Linked DNA regions of Homo sapiens: region 2 is linked to region 1. The links are contacts of gene promoters, found by promoter capture Hi-C in human tissues and cell types (Jung and others, 2019). All regions are on one chromosome and are shown on one strand. The core of a region is centred on a gene start or on the middle of the fragment in contact, and the rest is flanking DNA. Distances in the headings are between cores, read along the strand shown. Region 1 holds the start of FOXS1 (forkhead box S1). Region 2 overlaps TM9SF4 (transmembrane 9 superfamily member 4).

Region 1 (3,914 bases), core at 726-3,225:
AGATGCCAATATTGTAAGTCTCTTTTAATGATACATTAATAAGCCACCTTCATGGGGGGAAAACTGTGATTCGATAAAGGACAGAAATCAATCAATTGCTGTTTGTTTAGTCATTTAGCAGACATTTCTTGAACACCTACTCTGTTCCAGGCCTCTGTTCCAGTGTCCAGTGTGTGACTCTGGGGGTACAGCAAAACAGCATGCTCTTTACTCTCTTGGAGTTCACATTCTGTTTTCTAGTGGGGACCCAGCGACTCTCCGCTACCCCTGCCCCTCACTGAAGAGGCAGTATTTAGGAATTACAGAATCCTAGGCTCATATCCAGCTTTGTCACTCACTAGATGTGGGACATCAGGGAATTTACTTACCTTCTCTGAGCCTCAGAGCCCTCATCTATTCAAAAGAAGCAATGAAGCCCTCCAGAGCAGGGTTGGTTGAAGAAGTAAGTGTAGGGTTGGGGAGGTGAGCTGGCCTGGTACAGAGTGGGTGAGCAGTGACTTGGGAGTGGGAGAGCAGAGAGGATGCCGTCCCCTCCTCCAGAAGGCCTGACTGTTCTGGGCCTGACTCTCTGGACCTCCCGACCCCAGGCTGCAGCTGGGGTAGCCTCAGTTCAGAGTGACAATCCGCAGCCATGTTCATATCCCTACTCCATACTAGGCTCTTGATGAGGGTGCTGCATTCTGTGTAAGGGGAACCTGTTGCCTCCCCACCATGGCCTGGACAGCTGAGGAGTCACCAGCTCCATGTTAGAGATGGGGAAACTGAGGCTCAGCCAAGGTCTTGAGGTGCCTCTTGGGAGGGAGAATGTCTCTCCCCAGATAGCTGTCCTTCCCACACCAGTCACTAGGGGGCGACAGGGATGCAGCAGAACTGAATTTCATGGGCTCTCCTTACCATCCTAGGTGCCCCTCCCTGCAGACACCCCAGAGCTAGGAGGATGGGGTAGGAGTGGTGTGGCCCCAAGGCCTCTGCACCGCAGGAGAAGGCAGTAGACCACAGGCCTGGGAGAAGAGGGAAAAGCAGGAGTAGAGGTAGGGATTAGAGAAGCCCCTGGGGCTTCTCTCACTCTAGGGGGACTGGGCTCAGGCCCTGCCTCTCTCTCCTCTCTCTCTCTCTCTCTCTCTCTCTCTCTCTCTATTCATTCCTTTCACTCCTTGTGTTTGCACCTGTGTCTCTCAGTATCTCCTTTCTCTCTGGCTTTGTGGATTTCCTTGTTTCTGCCTGCTCAGTGATTCTCACTTTCTCCGTATACTACGTGTGTGTGTGTGTGTGTGTGTGTGTGTGTCTGTGTCTGTGTCTCTGTGTTTCTGTGTGTGTATGTCTCTGTGTGTCTGTGTATGTGCTTGTGTGTGTGTCTGTGTGTATGCCTATGTGTCTGTGTGTGTCTGTCTCTGTGTATATGTGTGTGTGTGCTTATGTCTGTGTGTGTGTGTCTGTGTGTGTGTCTGTGTCTGTGTGTCTCTGTGTGTCTGTACGTGTATGTCTGTGTGTCTCTGTGTGTCTGTACGTGTATGTCTGTGTGTCTCTCTGTGAGTGTCTGAGAGGCTCTGGGTGTCTCTGTCCGTTGTGTCTGCCTCTGTCTTATCTTTGTCTCTCCCTCTTTCTCCCTCTTGTGATGTCTCTACCTCTCTCTGTCTCTATCTCTTTTTTCCCTGTCTCTGTTTCATATGTTTCTGCCTCTGTCTCATTTTGTTTTTGTCTCTGTCCCGCTCAGTTTCACATCCTGTCCCTCCCCAGCCACCACCACCCAGCACACGTGGGCTGAGGGTCTCAGTCCCTTCCTTCCCAACTCCTCATCCCTGGCAGCTGCTCGGCTTCCCACTACTGGCCTCTCCTGCCCGCCTCTTTTGGGCCTTGTGGGAGTGGGGCGAGGGAGGAGGGGAGGATGGCTCAGCAGACCCACCCCTTTTTGCCTTTCCAGGCTGGGAGGCTGGGCCAGTGGACCTTTTAACCAGCCTGGGCAGGCTATTCCGGACGCCAGCCCTGGAAGCTGAGCCTGACCCAGCAGGTCCCAGCAGCCTGGCAGCCCGGCCAGCATGCAGCAGCAGCCTCTGCCCGGGCCTGGCGCCCCCACAACTGAGCCAACCAAGCCTCCCTACAGCTACATCGCCCTTATTGCTATGGCCATCCAGAGCTCACCGGGGCAGCGGGCCACCCTCAGTGGCATCTACCGCTACATCATGGGCCGATTCGCCTTCTACCGCCACAACCGGCCCGGCTGGCAGAACAGCATCCGCCACAACCTGTCACTCAACGAGTGCTTTGTCAAGGTGCCCCGCGATGACCGCAAGCCAGGCAAGGGCAGCTACTGGACGCTGGACCCTGACTGCCACGACATGTTTGAGCACGGCAGCTTCCTACGCCGCCGCCGCCGCTTCACCCGGCAGACAGGTGCTGAGGGCACCCGGGGCCCCGCCAAGGCACGCCGTGGACCCCTCAGGGCGACCAGCCAGGACCCAGGAGTCCCCAACGCCACGACCGGCAGGCAGTGCTCATTCCCACCAGAGCTGCCAGATCCCAAGGGCCTAAGCTTTGGGGGTCTGGTGGGGGCCATGCCAGCCAGTATGTGCCCAGCAACCACTGATGGCAGGCCTCGGCCACCCATGGAGCCCAAAGAGATTTCCACGCCCAAGCCTGCATGCCCAGGGGAGCTCCCCGTGGCCACCTCATCTTCCTCATGCCCAGCGTTTGGCTTTCCTGCCGGCTTCTCAGAGGCTGAGAGTTTTAATAAGGCCCCTACGCCCGTCTTGTCCCCGGAATCAGGCATCGGGAGCAGCTACCAGTGTCGGCTGCAGGCACTGAATTTTTGCATGGGGGCTGACCCAGGCCTTGAGCACCTCTTGGCCTCAGCAGCCCCCTCCCCTGCACCACCCACCCCTCCAGGCTCACTCCGGGCCCCACTGCCCCTGCCAACTGACCACAAGGAACCCTGGGTTGCAGGTGGCTTCCCTGTCCAGGGAGGCTCCGGCTACCCATTGGGGCTGACCCCCTGCCTATACCGGACGCCAGGAATGTTCTTCTTTGAGTAAAGGCAGCCTCACCTCGGGCAGTCCCTGCAGGTCCCTCACCCTCCGGGCTGAGCCTGGCTCTAGGACCTGAAGAACTCTCGAAGGACCCAGCCCTGGTGAGCCAAGGACAACCACACAGAAAGCCAGGATTGAAGCGGTGCTCAGCCAGGCCCCTGGGGCCTCCGGACAAACTTGGGGGTGAGGGGAAGCAGGGCCTCTTGGGATTTACTCTGTGGCTCTCAGGGCCAATAAAGCCATGTGATGATGAGGGTCAGCTTGCCTGATGGCTGGGGGCTGAGGGCCAGGGTGCCTGCTTGTATGTGGGGGTGGCTGTGGCTGTGGGGTTGTGCAGCGGGGGCAGAGACCCTTGGTGGGAATATCTCACATGAGGTTTTCTCCTGCTGGGGACTTTCTCAGGGAGTTTCCTAGAAAGGGAGAGGAAGGGGAGGTAGGGAATGGGGAGCAGGGAGAGGAGGATACAGGCAAGGGAGAGACTGGGCAGGGGCAAGACTGGGCTGGCCTGAGGGACTGATTCTCCAGTCTCAGATGCTGGGACTTAGCCCCCGTAGGTGCAGTCATCATAACCCTGACAATTTGTGACACTGATCCTGTCCCGGGCTTGTATGTATCATCTCACCTGTGTGATTTGGAAAGTTGGCCCCGTTTACAGTGGTGGAAACAGGCTCGCCAGCTCCAACTCCAGAGGGCAAATGGGTGGCAGAGGGTAAATCAAAACCACATCTGTGTGGCTCTACCCTCCAGCCTCTGACCTGCAGCTTGAGTGAGGACATAAGGGTGGAGAAGAGGGTCAGGGCAGAGCTGGTGGTGGCCCCCAGAGGTGGGAGGGCTTTGCTGCAATCCTGGAAGGCCAGGGCTAGAAAGGCACCCTTTACCCATTGTGCAGAC
Region 2 (3,914 bases), core at 722-3,221, 270 kb before region 1:
TAGCATTTATATGGAAATACAAAGGACCCAGAACATCTAAGACAACCTTAAAAACGTAATTGGAGGACTTATACTACATAATTTCTAAACATATTATAAAGCTACAATATCAAGACAGTGTGGTAAGAATATGCATAAAGATCAGTGGAAAATAATTAAAAGTCTATAAATAAATCTTTACATTTATACTAAATTGATTTTCAACAAAGCTGACAAGGCAAATTCAATAGAGAAACATAAGTCTTTTCAAAACATAGTGCTTGGACCACTGGGTAGCCATATGCACATGGAACCTCAGAACATACACACAAAAATTAAGTCAAAATGGATCACAGAACTAAACAAAAAAGCTAAAACTCAAAAACCTCTATACGGAAAAAATAAGAAATCATTGTGATCTTGGGTTAGGCAAAAATGTCTTAGATACAACACCAAAACCAGAATCCATTAAAAAAATTATAATAAATTAAATTTCATAAAAATTTAAAAACTTTTACACTTCCAAAGATACCACTAAGAAAATGAAAAGATGGGCCAAAGACTAGTGGAAAATTCTTTGCAAATCACATACCTGATAAGGAACTTATATCCAGAATATACAAAGAACACTTAATAAGAAAATGACAATCCGATTTAAAAATGGACAAGAGATTTGTACAGAAATTCACCAAAGAAGATATATGAATGACTAATAAGCATAAAATATATTTAATATCATTTGTCAATAGGAAAACGCAAACCAAAACCACAGTGAGGTACCACCACACACCCACTAGAATCTGCTTGCCTCGGCCTCCCAAAGTGCTGGGATTACAGGCATGAGCCACGGTGCCCAGCCCTAATTTTTGTATTTTTAATAGAGACTGGGTTTCATCATGTTGCCCAGGATGGTCTTGAACTCCTGGGCTCAAGCGATCCACCTGCCTCAGCTTCCCAAAGTGCTGACATTACAAGCATGAGCCACCAAATCTGGCCAAATAAACCTCTTTTCTTTATAAATTACTCAGCCTCAGGTATTCCTTTATGAGCAACACAGTCTCCCAAAATGCTGGGATTACAGGTGTGAGCCACTGCGCCTGATCCATTTTATAGCTTTTTAAAGACTGACAAGTAAAAATTGAATATATTTATGGTAGGCACACAACATAATGTTTTGATACTTTTATAGCTTTTTAATACTCTTTTCCACATACATGGATCACCCTTATTAAAAATAAATACATTTACGGGCAGAGTAGCTCAGGACTATAATCCCAGCACTTTGTAAGGCCGAGGCAGGTGGATCGCTTGAGCCCAAGAGTTTGAGACCAGCCTGAGCAAAACCTCGTCTCTACAAAGAATACAAAAAATTAATGAGGAATGGTGGTGCTTGCCTGTAGTCACAGCTACTCTGGAGGCTGAGGTGGGAGGATCACTTGAGCCTGGGAGGTGGAGGTTGCAGTGAGCAGAAATCACGCCACTGCACTCCAGCTTGGGCAACAGAGTGAGACCTTGTCTCAAAATAAAAATAAATAAATAAATAAATAAATAAATAAATAAATAAATAAATACAACAAAATAAATACATTTAGGCTGGGCATAGTAGCTAATACCTATAATTACGTGGGAGGATCACCTGAGCCCAGGAGTCCGACGGCTGCAGTTAGAGTGAGCTATGATTCCACCACTGCACTCCAACCTGGGTGACAGGGTGAGACCCTGTCTCTAAAAAAATTAAAAAATTAAAGACATATATTCATTTATATTTTAAGAAGTGAAGGAAATGGGTTGCCTCTGAAAATACTGGGATGAGTTCCACAGAAGATGTGCAGAAAGTGGGCTAAGGTAAGAATTATGCAGAGCGGATTCTGGCACCAGGTATGTGGGTAAGCAGACAGATCAGCAATTTTTAATCTTGGGGAGGGTGTCACAAATCCCTCTGAGAAACTTATCAAAGCTACAGATACTGATCTCGGAAAAAATATTCCAATACACAGAGAATCAAGGACTAGAAGTTCATGGGTTTCTGGTAAAACCCCTGGACACTGTTCCAACTTTTTATGATTCTATGACTTCATCACCTTCTATATTCCTGATAGCCTGATAGAGGATGTTTGGCCTGCAGTTCTTTTCTGTAAGGAAAAAGCAAAGTACCTGCTTCTTAGGAAATTCCTTTAAATTTTCTTTTAATTTTTAATTGATTGCCTCATTAACTCCCATGAGAGGTTCAGTCTGAAAAGTCAATTAAATATTTAGTAATCATCTTCTGCATGTTCAGAGCCATGCAAAGAGTCCTAAGAGATGTGAACCAGCCCATTCAACGTCATTTTGCTTTTGCTACTTGGTTTCCAAGTAGCAAAAGAGACCTCAAAGGCAGCATATCAAGGAACAAGGTGATGGCAATCTAGAAGCCTTTTGTGCTGTAATCTAACACGCCATCACTGGCAAAGATACAGGTGACCTGGAATGTTATAAAGCTCAAGAGAACCAAGAATCAAGGTCTTTCCCTCCCCATCTGTTTTATTCTTGGGGGGGCGGGGGTGGGTTGGGCACTCAGAAATATCTCCCCCAAACAGCTGTCTAATGAAGGGCTGCTAGGACTCAAAAGTACCCCCAGCCACTCCAAATTCACCCCACCCAGTTTGAAAGGTGTGAACAATTAACATCTTCCAAAGAAAACAGGAAGTTTCCCTGAGAACGAAAAATTATTTCATTCACTTGCATTTCTCTGTAACCAGAAGTTAACTTTTTCTGGAGCCCTCTGCCTTGCAATCTCCTTTCCCATAAATAGCATCAACTAGCAGCAATACATCTGGCCAATCTGAACGGCCTTTTTGGTTCCTGTTCCATGCCTTTCCTACTGCAAAAGCAGCATTTTCCTTAGCAATAGACTAGATTCTTCTTTTTCTTTCTAAAAGACAGTCACTTTTTTTTTTTTTTTTTTTTTTTGAGACAGAGTCTAGCTCTGTTGCCCAGGCTAGAGTGCAGTGATATGATCTTGGCTCACTGCAACCTCCGCCTCCTGGGTTCAAGTGATTCTCCTGCCTCAGCCTCCTGAGTGGCTGGGATGACAGGTGCCTGCCACCAGACCCGGCAATTTTTTTGTATTTTTGTAGAGACAGGGTTTCGCCATGTTGGCCAGGCTGGTCTTGAGCTCCTGACCTCAAATGACCCACTCCGACCTCGGCATTTCCCAAAGTGCTGGGATTACAGGTGTAAGCCACTGTGCCTGGCGACAGTCACCATTTTGAGACCATGTCAGTAACTGCTCCCTCAGATTAAGCAAAAAAAAAAAAAAAAAAAAAAAAAAGAAAAAGGAAAAAGGAGGAAAAAAAAAAAAAAGAAAAAGGCTTTGGGCACAGTTTGCCAACAGTTAACTGAAGTCAATTATCCAGTCAGTTAAAGCTTACCAAGAATCCAGCCGCATGTGAATGAAGGCTAATGACAGCTAGAGACAACTTACCAAGCAGGCCCATGGAACTAAAGAACTCACAGAGCAAGAAACAAACAAACAAACAAACAAAAAACAAATTAGCCACAGGAAACTGAAAATGTAGCCTTTATTTCAGAGCCCACAGACACAGAGTAGCTGTTGAACAGAGACACATGAAAGACTCAAAGCTGTAATTTGGGGGTAGGGAAAAACGCACAGCAGGCTGCACTGCGGAAGTCCAGGTGAAACTAATAACCACCCTCACGAAGCAACAGGCAACCAGACTTCAACCCTGACACCACCAAGTGCAGAAACGTACTGCTCTCCTGTCTCCACCTTGGGTATTTATAAAAGAACTCTCAGCTAGCCCAAGCAGCAGGCTTAGATAGCTCACCACGGGAAGACTTCAAACCTTGGAGTAAAGTTACAGAGTGCCCTCTCTGTGCTAGCACTTTCATCTCATATTTCATTTAATCATCACAACAATCCCTTGAGAATATCA

What was found. Contacts are between HindIII fragments. The study calls those that stand out against the background at their distance.
Region 2: a contact is called between a fragment that was not itself captured here and the fragment with the promoter of FOXS1 in region 1, in 1 of the 25 tissues and cell types used here (aorta).

The regions. Positions count from the first base shown.
Region 1 is chr20:31,843,665-31,847,578 of GRCh38, reverse strand. It overlaps FOXS1 (forkhead box S1), which reads left to right and starts at 1,975. Exons shown (of 1, transcript NM_004118.4): 1 at 1,975-3,276. The coding sequence starts at 2,037. The coding sequence ends at 3,029. It also overlaps a transcript of DUSP15 not described here. RefSeq lists an enhancer at 2,034-2,591. The HindIII fragment of the contact is 12,044 bases long and covers 1-3,914 here.
Region 2 is chr20:32,116,238-32,120,151 of GRCh38, reverse strand. The region is part of intron 1 of TM9SF4 (transmembrane 9 superfamily member 4); the gene reads right to left. Among named protein-coding and RNA genes, the nearest start is that of TM9SF4, 8.5 kb to the right of the region's middle. The HindIII fragment of the contact is 3,788 bases long and covers 78-3,865 here.